Regions from separate parts of the Homo sapiens genome. Here region 2 is linked to region 1. Evidence: promoter capture Hi-C in 16 types of primary human blood cells and fetal thymus (Javierre and others, 2016). All regions are on one chromosome and are shown on one strand. The core of a region is centred on a gene start or on the middle of the fragment in contact, and the rest is flanking DNA. Distances in the headings are between cores, read along the strand shown. Region 1 holds the start of UBE2L6 (ubiquitin conjugating enzyme E2 L6). Region 2 overlaps LOC105369313 (a long non-coding RNA gene).

Evidence for each region. Contacts are between HindIII fragments. The CHiCAGO score rates a contact against its expected background, and 5 or more counts as called.
Region 2: a fragment that was not itself captured here is called in contact with the fragment with the promoter of UBE2L6 in region 1 in 1 of 17 cell types (naive CD8 T cells); the score reaches 6.5 in naive CD8 T cells.

Annotation. Positions count from the first base shown.
Region 1 is chr11:57,565,895-57,571,317 of GRCh38, forward strand. UBE2L6 (ubiquitin conjugating enzyme E2 L6) reads right to left here and starts at 1,778. Exons shown (of 4, transcript NM_004223.5): 1 at 1,691-1,778. The coding sequence starts at 1,717. RefSeq lists an enhancer at 179-528 and a silencer at 1,782-2,141. The HindIII fragment of the contact is 19,025 bases long and covers 1-5,423 here.
Region 2 is chr11:58,494,285-58,499,887 of GRCh38, forward strand. LOC105369313 (a long non-coding RNA gene) reads right to left here. Exons shown (of 5, transcript XR_007062673.1): 4 at 3,889-4,106; 5 at 1-3,720. Among named protein-coding and RNA genes, the nearest start is that of OR5B21, 11 kb to the right of the region's middle. The HindIII fragment of the contact is 6,463 bases long and covers 807-5,603 here.

The DNA.
Region 1 (5,423 bases), core at 528-3,027:
TGGACCATTTGAACTTTCTCTGCCTTACCCCCACCCCCAACATATAATATAAACACATCCCATGCCCCCCTCCTATCCCTCAGCCTATGTTCTATTTCTGTTCAACCAATAAGCTGCTTCTGGTGCCTTCCACCCAGGGTCAATGGCCCTTCATTTATCTTTACCCCAAACTAGAAGCATCTGCACTTGTAAGAGTTTCTCTATCATCTGTGACTCTTTGGCAAGAACAAAGCCCAGGGCTGACCGGAGAAGATCTGGAATAGACATTTTCCAGGTCTTGGAAAGATAAAGACACTTGAACTTTATCTGTTTAGGATGAGTTCTGCCAGAACTTTCCCAAAGCCTGAGGAAGTTGAAACCCAACCTAAAACACACAGTTCTTTCCTACTGCCTACTAGGAAATCACCTGACTCAGAGGAACAGAAAATGAAAGTAGAAAGGCCATTAAGAGAGCCTGCAGGCTGGAGGCCTGTGGACCTGGTTTCATATTCCAGTCCCATTGCTCCTTACTGAAAGACTCTGGACAAGCAAGTTATTTCCTCTGTGCCTCAATTTCCTCATTTGTAAAATGCGGGTATATATTACTTATCTCACAGAACTGCTGTGCGAATTAGATGAAATAACCATGTAAACCGTTTGGCATGTAATGGTTCCAATGCAATAAATTCTGGCTCCCATCTCTCTTCCACTTGGCTGGAAAGACCCTCTGCCTCATTTTGCTGCCAACCTCCAGATTTAGTATCTAGGCCAAGCCTGCTCTGGGCATCCCAGTCTGAGGCCATTTTCTTCTCAGAGGCTGAGGGTAGCAGGCACCCTCTTCCTAGAGCCTGCCCCTCCACCCTGCAGACTGGAAGGGGCACTTCTGAAAGACTTGGGGTGCCAGACTCACTTCACCAGGATCACCTTCCTCCCTAATCCATCTCCAAACACCCTGGGTTTTCCCACCTTCTGGAGGAAACTGCCCCCTCCCCATCCTTCCAGATCTTATTTCAAATTGTGTCCCTGATAGGAACAAAATTCAACAAGGGCCGGATTTGTGTTCATCTCTGCCCGCCCCCCCCCCCCTCCTAGAACAGGGCCAGCACATGTAGGCATTCAACACTTGTAGAACTCACGAACGCAAGCCACCTACTCCAGGAGGCCTTCCAGGTCCACCTCCGCATCTTTTCCTCCAGAGAATACTCAGGGAACTTTGTCCCAAATTCTAATCAGCATTCCGTGTTTCTCAGGACTCTAGTAATACAGGCATCAAATTATGGGATGGGCTATGGGCTTATTCCAAGGCAAGGACTTCATCCTGGTCATCTGTGTTCATAACCCACCACCAGCAGTAGCAGAATGCCTGGCACCAAGATGCCAAGGACTTTTCCTGCACTGGAGATGCACCCAGTTGTTATCACAAGTTTCAGGCAGGAAAAGCGAAATTGAAACCAGTTTTGGGGGAGCCGGCTCATCTTCACCACGCGAACGGCTCAAGCAGAGGCCTCCAAACCCCCAAAACCCCAGCTCTGGCCACTCTTGCAGGCCAGTCCTCCTCTGAGTAGAGGGCGGGGAGGACAGGGATTCAGCCAGCCCTGGTGCCCAGACAAATAAATAAATGTGCTCGGAGAGCCGCGGAGGGGATGGAGGGAGGAGGGAATGCGGGAGGCGAGGGGAGCCAAGAGAAAGGGGTCATCCTATACGCGGTTACCTTCACCACTCGCATGCTCGCCATCATGTCGGGACCGAGTGTGTGGCACCCGTGGCCTCCAGCAGGACCGAGCTCCGACCCGCGACACAGCGCGCCCCGCCCCGCCCCGGGGACCCCACCCCCGGCAGCCCCGCCCACCCCTCCTCCAGCCGTCGCTGCGTGGGCCTCCCCGCACCCGCTCCGGCGAGGCCAGGAGGCCGTCGAAGGACGACCCGCCGGACAACCGCCCGATCCCCGCGCGGAAGGCTCGGACCCGGGACTCACGGTCTTTGTGCGGAGACGGGGGCGGGCCTCGGGGCGCACGGCTTTGCTGATCCCTGCCTCCCGCGGGGTGCGCCGTGCACCGGCGGCGAGCGCTCAGGGGCGCTGGGGGGCGCTCATACGGGTTCCAGTCTTCGCTCCGCCGGCGGCCGCACCGGGAGCTCTCCGGTCTTTGTCAGCCCCCTGCACGCCGCCCCAAATACACACTCGCCCTGAATAAATAAGGGATGCTCGCTGTACAGACGCAGCTCCGTGACAGTTCTCAGCGGCCTCCACTATCGGACTGCCGCCTTGAGCCCCTGCCCCAGCAAGCTGCCGGAGCCGCCGAGCCTGCCGCCTTCCCTCCATGGGCCCAGCGCTCCATCTCCGAAACTGCGTGGGGGATGGCGTAGACCTGTGCCCTCCGAGCACCGCTCCCCGGCAGTCGGGGATCCTTTGTGCTGCCCGGCGTTCGGCGCGGGCTGCAACGTTTCTCCCCGTGGCTTGGGGCAGAGCACCGCAAGGAGGCGCTGTTGGACCCTTTCTCTTTTGCTTTGGGGGTTCGGTCTACCATCATTCAGTCCTTTACTAGGTTTAGTATTTACTAAGTGCCTACTGTATGCTGGTTTGGGAAACAGTTGGTGGGGGAAGCCCCAAGAAGGACTCAGGAGCCTCCTTTCCAAGAGAGAGTCTGCTTCCCCTCCCTTACTTTACTACTGGTCCATTACAAGCTGTGGGCCTAATGTGTGCCCCCATGCACAGCTGGAGTCCCCAACCCTCTGTGCAAGGACAGAGTACTTGCAGCCCCTGAGCACCAAGCAGCATCTGGGGAAGATGAGACTTGTTGGGAGGGCCGATCCCCTCCTTCTCACCCTTCCCTACCCCCGTTTAGTCCAGACGAGAAAGGAAATCAGTATATTTTGAGCACCAGTTTGTGATCTCAGTACCTCACAGTTTTTTTGTTTCTTGTTTTTCTGACAGAGTTTCACTGTCGCCCTGACTGGAGTTCAGTGGCGATATCGGCTCACTGCAACCTCCGCCTCCCGGTTCAAGCTGTTCTCGTGCCTCAGCCTCCTGAGTAGCTGAGATTTACAGGCGCGCGCCACCACGACCGGCTCATTTTTGTATTTTTAGTAGAGTCAGGGTCTCGAGCTCCTGGTTTCAAGTAATCCACCCGCCTCGGCCTCCCAAAGTGTTGGAATTACAGGCGTGAGCCACCGTAATGTTTTTATCCAAGTATTTTGAAACCAAATGACTTCTCTGCTCAGATTTTGCAGAACGATTAATTGTTTCATTCAATTCAATGAACTTTAACAGCATTTTCTATATGCCCGAAATGAATAGGACACTCCGTAATCCCTTAACAGGGGTAGAGATGAGGGAACAAAGACATTCGAACCTGCCTGTGATCAATAGTCTCAGTCAACAAGCGCCTACTACTGAGTGGCAGGCATTGCCAATAGGAAACACCAGGATGAGAAAGGGGAGTCCCTGCTCCTGAGGAGTTAGTTCCCAGACTACTGGGACAGAGGGAGAGAATGCAGCCCCTGATTTTTAATGATAATGCTATAGAGAATCACCTGGTACTCTGGGAGTATGAGGAGGGTCACTTTATCCCTCTTCAGGGAGGGGCAGAGGTTTCCCGGAAGAGAGAAAAATCCAAGTGTATTGTGAAACATGATGAGTCAGCGAGAAGTAAGAGCGTGGGATGAAGATGTTCTAACAAGAGGGAACAGCATGAGCAAACGGGGCAGTGTCTATGGAAACTGGAGCAAAAGCCTCTGTCCACGTATCGTAGCTCTCCTTTTCTTTTCTTACAGGAACGCTGCATCCCGAGGTGAATTAACAGTCATGGATATAGCTGGGTCCTAAGTCCCCACACAGTGGGGCAGCCCACTGGTGTGCCTTTCATGTCCTTTCACAATGCAGACCTTTGTGTGTCAGAACAAGCCCCAGGGAGACCTGGGTTCTAGTTCCACATCTGCCCCCATGTGCAGTTATGGCCTTGGGTGGTCGGCGGAAACTCCTATCTGCTTGCCAGGACCATTGTGAGGCTAAGCTGAGGGAAGTGGAGGAACTTAGAATATTGTAAGTCGCCGGGCGCAGTGGCTCACGCGTGTAATCCCAGCACTTTGGGAGGCCGAGGCAGGCGGATCACCTGAGATCAGGAGTTCGAGACCAGCCTGACCAATATGGTGAAACCTCGTCTCTACTAAAAATACAAAAATTAGCCGGGCATGGTGGTGGGTGCCTGTAATCTCAGCTAGTCAGGAGGCTGAGGCAGGAGAATCGCTTGAACCCAGGAGGCAGAGGTTGCAGTGAGCCAAGATCACGCCATTGCACTCCAGCCTGGGGGACAGAGCAAGACTCCGCTCAAAGAAAAAAAGAAAAGAAAATTCTAAGTCCGAGGCCTGGCATGGTGGCTCATGCCTATAATCCCAGCACTCTGGGAGGCCAAGGCAGGCGGATTACCTGAGGTCAGGAGTTCGAGACCAGCCTGGCTAACATGGCGATACCTCGTCTCTACTAAAAACACAAAAATTAGCCAGGTGTAATGGCGTGCGCCTGTAATCCCAGCTACTGGGGAGGCTGAGGCAGGAGAATCACTTGAACCTGGGAGGCAGAGGTTGCAGTGAGCCGAGACCGGGCCATTGCACTCCAGCCTGGGCGACAAGAGCGAAACTCTGTCTCAAAAAGCAAAACAAGAAAATTGTAATTCCAGGATATAAACAATCAGGTTTGAATCCCAGCTCCACTATTTTTGGCTAAATAACCTTGGGCACATTACTTAACCTGTCTGTGCCTCCATTTCCTCATCTGTTAAATGGAGCTCATAACAGTGGATGTGAGAAACAATGAGTTGATATTTGCAAAGAACTTAACTTTGAATGGTGGACAATAAGTGACAGTTATGATAATGATAACATAATAAATATTAAAATGATGTCAGGTGCCTGCCTCAGAGTGAATGTACCAGGCTGTAGGAACAGATGCCTGAGCTTGCTCCCTTAGAACAACAGCAACACTATTTTCTCCAGTAGGAGACCCTGTTTTACTTCTCCCTGATCTGGTCACTGGCATTTATTCATCCATCTACAAAATTTATTGAGCACCTACTTATACAAGGCCCTGTATGGGGTACTCGATGGGATTCAGGCATTGATTGGTTAGGCTGGCTCGTCTTCACCATTGAGAGGAAGAGACACACATCTGTGTGATGACAAAAGGTGGTAGGAGAAAGGCCTCTTAAGTGACGTGCACATATGAGGTATGTCTCTTCCAAGACTGAGCTCTGCCAGCTGTAAGGCTTGCCAGTCTCTTATGAGGATAAAATGAGATGGTGTATGTGAGCAGACACCTTGTAGGTGTGAAAGTACGTTATCTATTTATAATGCCTCTAGAGTTCTGGGCAAGAGGTTCAGATTTTTCAAATGTCTCCAAGAACCTTCAGTGCATCTTCAAAGGAAGAACTTGGATCAGGAAGGATCAGTTG
Region 2 (5,603 bases), core at 2,788-5,287, 930 kb after region 1:
ACAAGACTTAGAGGTATTTTAGTAATTTCTTCCAGGTTGCATCACCAGTAAATGGCAAAAACAATATTCAAAACCAAGAAGTCTGATTTCAGAAGCCACAGCCTAAATACCAGGATAAATATCTCTTGATTAAATAAGATAAAGCATGTAATAGTAAGCACTCCATATATGAAAGTGACTACTATATTTCATCTAAGTCCTGCTTCTATGCATTCTACACTATTATCCCATGCTAGTCCACACGTGGAATTTCTTTCTTGTGTTAGTATTTATTTCAGTCTGCAGGTTCTTTCCATCTCTGCTGATAGGAAGGATCAAAATTCACTTAGAGAAGATTTTTCAATTCCTAAGAAGACTTAGCATCTCTTCAGCATGCTCTGTGAATTTCAAGGCTCTTGATTGAAGCTTCTTATCCTCTATGCATCCATGTGCTCATTAAATTCTGAAACAAGGCTCATGAACCAAAAGAAAAACGGTTAAGAACCACAGCTCTGGCTCTGATGACTGAAGCATGACTTCTGTCTCTATTTATGAGGAGTTGGGGTTTGGCACTTTTCTTCCTACTTTGAGCTTTCTGTGTTCAATGCCTAATACCACTTAGATTTTCCTTCTGTCAAAGCCCTACGGAATATTGGTACCATCACATGAGTTTTAAAAAAATTCTATGTTGTTGAAAAGTCTAAAAGTTCAGAAATAATACTTAAAACATCCCCATCTGAGATTTAAGTGTTCAGTAGGCTATTAAAGATGCTGAGAAGTACTGTAGTAATGTAACAGCAAGCTGTTTAACTTACCTGCTTATGGAAAGCTTTTTCATATGTAACCCTGTTAACTCCCCATAGCATTTTGCTTGGGGAAAAAAAAAAGTAGCATTAGACAGAAGTGTGTAATCCATGAAATTCCTGGATTGTGTCCCACTGAATACAATGCATCTCAGAATTACACTCTTTGTCCATTTCATGCCAGTTTTCAGGACAGCACATATACAATTTTCCCATTTTCATAATTCTCTCTCATTAGCTTGAGTGTTCCATGAGGATACATTTTTGTCATGTTTACCTTTAAAATACCATCACACTGTCTAGAATTTATTAGTTATAAATAAACACTTCTTGAATAAATGAATTACTCAGAACCTTTTGTTTGTTTCATTGGTGGTGAATAGAGTAAACAACCGTTCCAATTTGCCCAGAATTAAGAAATTTTCTGAGATTTGGGGCTTTCAGTGAGAAAACAGATTGTTCCAGGCAAACTAGGACAAATTGGTCATGCTATGCGGTGGTGATTTTTTATTTTGTTGATTTTTGCTTTTAATTATCATATTTGTCCACTCTGTGTGTGTGTCCAGATTTTAGCTAAACACTAGCCATGAATTAGTGTGTTTACTTCTCAAAACAGCCTCAGGAAATATGTATGATTTCGTCTCCATTTCACAGATGAAGAAATCAAGGCAAAATTTTCATGCCTTGGCCACAGATACCCAGCCTTACCCTGCTGTCTGGTTCTAGAGTCTGTGCCCTCCAAAATGAATTCTGCAGGTACAGCAAAGAGCATAAGGTCACGAAATTCATCTTTGAAAATAAGAGCTCAGTAATTCACATAGAAAATAATGTGGACAAGCACAATCCATTCCCTGCTGGGTGAGATAGAATGTGAGAGAAAGAAGTCTGGAAAGCCATAATCTTAACATTAATCCAAGATGCGAGTGAATTTGAATTTGAGCTTTTAATATGTTATATACAGGCCAAGCAAGCTGAGAGCTATTTTTAGCTCTAAGTTATGAAATACAATCACATGGACAGGTGGCCTACATTTTCAGTTTTATATTTGGTGAGGAGTTTTGCAGTCAAAGTGAGAATGCCATTGCACCGACCAGGTTTGGAAAAGGCAGCTGGAGTCCTACAGATTCTGAGCATGCTGAGCAGGACAGCTAGGTGGTGGTGTGGAGTGGGAGATAGAAAATCTGGAGCCTAGACTCAACACCACCAGTCTATCTATATGACATGGGAAAAAACATTTGAGATTTCTTTTTTTTTTTTTGCCTTAGTTTTCTCATCTGAAAAAAGGTAGAACATGATGGGGAGGTAAGAATAGAGTATAAAGGGTTTGTAGGCCAGCAAAAGAGTGAATCGGTATCCTGGTTCTATCACTTAGCATCTGTATCTGAGCCTTAGTTTTACCATCTATAAAATGGGAAATCTGATTCATAAATCACAGGTTATCATTTAGTAGAAAATGATGACACTTCTTCATCTGTTTAATCCTTGATAAGTCACTTCACATATTTGGGCCTTGGTTTTATCAACTATAAAACTAGGATAATAACCTAAATGTTAACAGGGTAATTATGAGAAACAACAAAGGTGAAAATGCCCACCAGAGCTCACAGCACACACAAAACCATCAGGAAGTATTTGAGGAGGGGACAGCTTCTAAGGCTCTTTACATCTCTAGGAAATGTGAATTTTGTGCACACTAGCCACTGTTTTCTGCTTACTTCAAGAAACAAGTCTAAAGATTTAGGATCTTATCTCTGATGTTCTTAGCAACACAAATAGCAATCTTAAAGAAGGTAAAACATTATTTGGCCATCAGAAATTATCATAGAATTAAGAGTGGATGAGGACAGCAAAAGAAACAAATAGAGTAAAAAGGGCAACTTACAGAATGGGAGAAAATATTTGCAAACTATGCATCCAACAAAGGTCTAATATCCAGAATCTATAAGGGACTCAAATTAACAAGCAAAAAACAAACAGCCTCCATTAAAAAGTGGGCAAAAGACACAAACAGTTTTCAAAAGAAAACATACAGTGAACAAGCATATGAAAGATGCTTAAAATCACTGATCATTAGAGAAATGAAAATCAAAACCACAATGAGATACCATCTCACACCAGTCAGAATGGCTATTACTAAAAAGTCAAAAAATAACAGATGCTTGTGAGGTTGCAGAGAAAAGAGAATGCTTATACACTGTTGGGGGGAACATAAATTAGTTCAGCAATTGTGGAAAACAGTGTGGCAATTTCTCAAATAACTTAAAACAGAATTCTTATTTGACCCAGCAATCCTATTACTGGGGATATGCCAGGAGGAATATAAATAGATCTGTCATAAAGACACATATACGCATATGTTCATTGCAGCACTATTCACAAGAGCAAAGACATGGAATCAACCTAAATGCCTATCAACAGTAGACTGGATAAAGAAAATGTGACACATATAACCTATGGGATAATATGCAATCATAAAAAGAAACAAGATCATGTTCTTTGCAGCAACATGGATGGAGCTGGGGGCCATTATCCTGAGTGAACTAACACAGGAACAGAAAACCAAATATCACATGTTCTCACTTGTGAGAGCTAAACATTTGAACACAAAGAATGGAACAAAAGACACCAGGGCCTACTTGAGGGTGAAGGGTGAGAAGGAGGAAGAGGGCTGAAAAACTACTTATCAGGTACTATGCTTATTACCTGGGTGACGAAATAATTTGTACACCAAACCCCCATGACACACAATTTACCTATATAACACACCTGCACATGTACCACTGAACTTAATAAAATAAAGTAAAACAAAGTAACTATTTCATACAGGGAAAAAACAGCAAATGAAGAGATCTCTCAGATTAGATTCATTGGGAAATAGACTCTGAGACTGAGATCTGTGTGCAGATGGCTCTCCAGGAAGGACTCTCAGGAACAGCATCTGTAAGGGAGAGATGGCAGCAGAATTAGAGAGAGGGAGAAATTGTGCTGCAATGCAGTCTCAATAAAGGCCTCAGCCAATCCTTTAGGGTGCTTGGGAGCTGAGATGGCTCTTGGGAGCTGTGTCAAGGAAACAGGACAAGCAGGGGCAGGCCTTCATACTACTCACTGGCCAATCTTGGATGACACTTCTACAGCTGTTTAATCTTCACCTGGAGCCATAACCTCAGGGGAGGTGGCTCCCATTGACTGAAGGAAATTCTTCGAAGGATTTCAGCTAGGAGATCCAGGTAGCACACAATCACATCCACTATCATAGACACTATTGTTTACATAAGATGCGCTTGGAATTGAAGAGAGAAATCTGACGAGCAGCCAACGAGGGACCTAAAAAGAAGTGGTTGTTGCAATTAACTTGAAAGTCAGCATACTGGCTCCTGGACACAACGTTGTCCAGCTTTAGCCAGGCTCATACATTATTCAGATAAAAAGTGACCATTATCTGAACAGAAAATCAGTAATGTGTTTATAAGGACAAACGTGTTTGTAAGAAAAATGTTTCTGACTCTATCAAAAACATTAAGCAAACTAAATGTGTGCTCATACACACAAAAGGGGTTGTGGCCGCCAGCCAGAGCAGCTGTGGTGTGTGAGGTGGTATGCAGAGTTAGAATACTGCACAAAGTCTCACTCTGTCACTTCCTGGATGTGAGAATTCAGAGACCACTTCTCCTCCCCAGGCCTCAACTTCCTAGTCAGTAACATGCAACAGGGGAACAAAAACAGCCCTAAGATCTCTTTCATCCTATGTACCAATAATTCCAGATGTTTATTACTATTGTTAGCAAGAACAAAAATAATTAAAAATGGATGCCTTGGTAGTTGCTTCATTTTCTGCTAAGTTAAATTTTGTGGCAGTGTTTCCTCTGCATTATTCATTTCCTGATAATTTTTTATAACACTTTTTGGTTTTTATTGAAATGTTGTGGACCTCTCTTTTATTATTGAGGGTGCTTTATTCCCCATACTCTTTAACATTTATAATTTTGTGAGGTCAGTGACTTCTCTCTTGTTCACTCTACTGTCCATGGAAGAGTATCTCTCACAAGCTAGAGGTATCAGTTATGTTTCATTATAGACACCAGTTCAGGCTAACTTGAAGGGAAACAAAAGAGGTAATTGAAAGGATATCAAGAGGTTTGCAGAATCAAAAGGAAACTGGGCAAAATGCAGGAACCAGGAGCACTTCAGAGGGCTAAGGAACAGAAGTCGGAAGCAAAGAACCATGTCATGTCTGGAATGGCCCCACCAACATTTCCCTGCTATAGCAAATGAGCTCCAAGCCTTGATGCTTCTTTCCATCCCTTGCAGATTCAAATTTAGGGGAGTGAGAACTTTTTGTTGGCTGAGCTTAGGACTCATGCCTGCCTCTCTATATACCTCCATGAATCTCTCTGTATAGATTTCTCTTCCTTAGGGGGCAGGGAAGGAAAGGTTATCCTTGCCTCAGCTTCCATAGACTTGTGGGTGGAGAGGGTACAGGAACTAGACACTCTTCTCCCACCAATCTATTCTCCAAGAAAGAGATCATTCTCCAAGAAAGTCACGATATTTTAAGCAGGAAAATGGATTCTGGATACACAGAATACCAATATTTGCTAGAGCAGGTGCTCAAATAATGTTTTAGGTGGATATGTGCTCATACATAAAATGCTGAAAATTTCCTCTGAAGCAAACAAGTGCTTTACTTTAACATAGGTGCATAAGGAAAGCTGTTTTAAATATTCTTCTACAGCAGTTGAGATTCTGCCTTATCTCCGACGTCTATGTGCATGATGTCCAGAACTTCTTTATTGAAGTTTGAATCTATAGCTTAAATTTGAA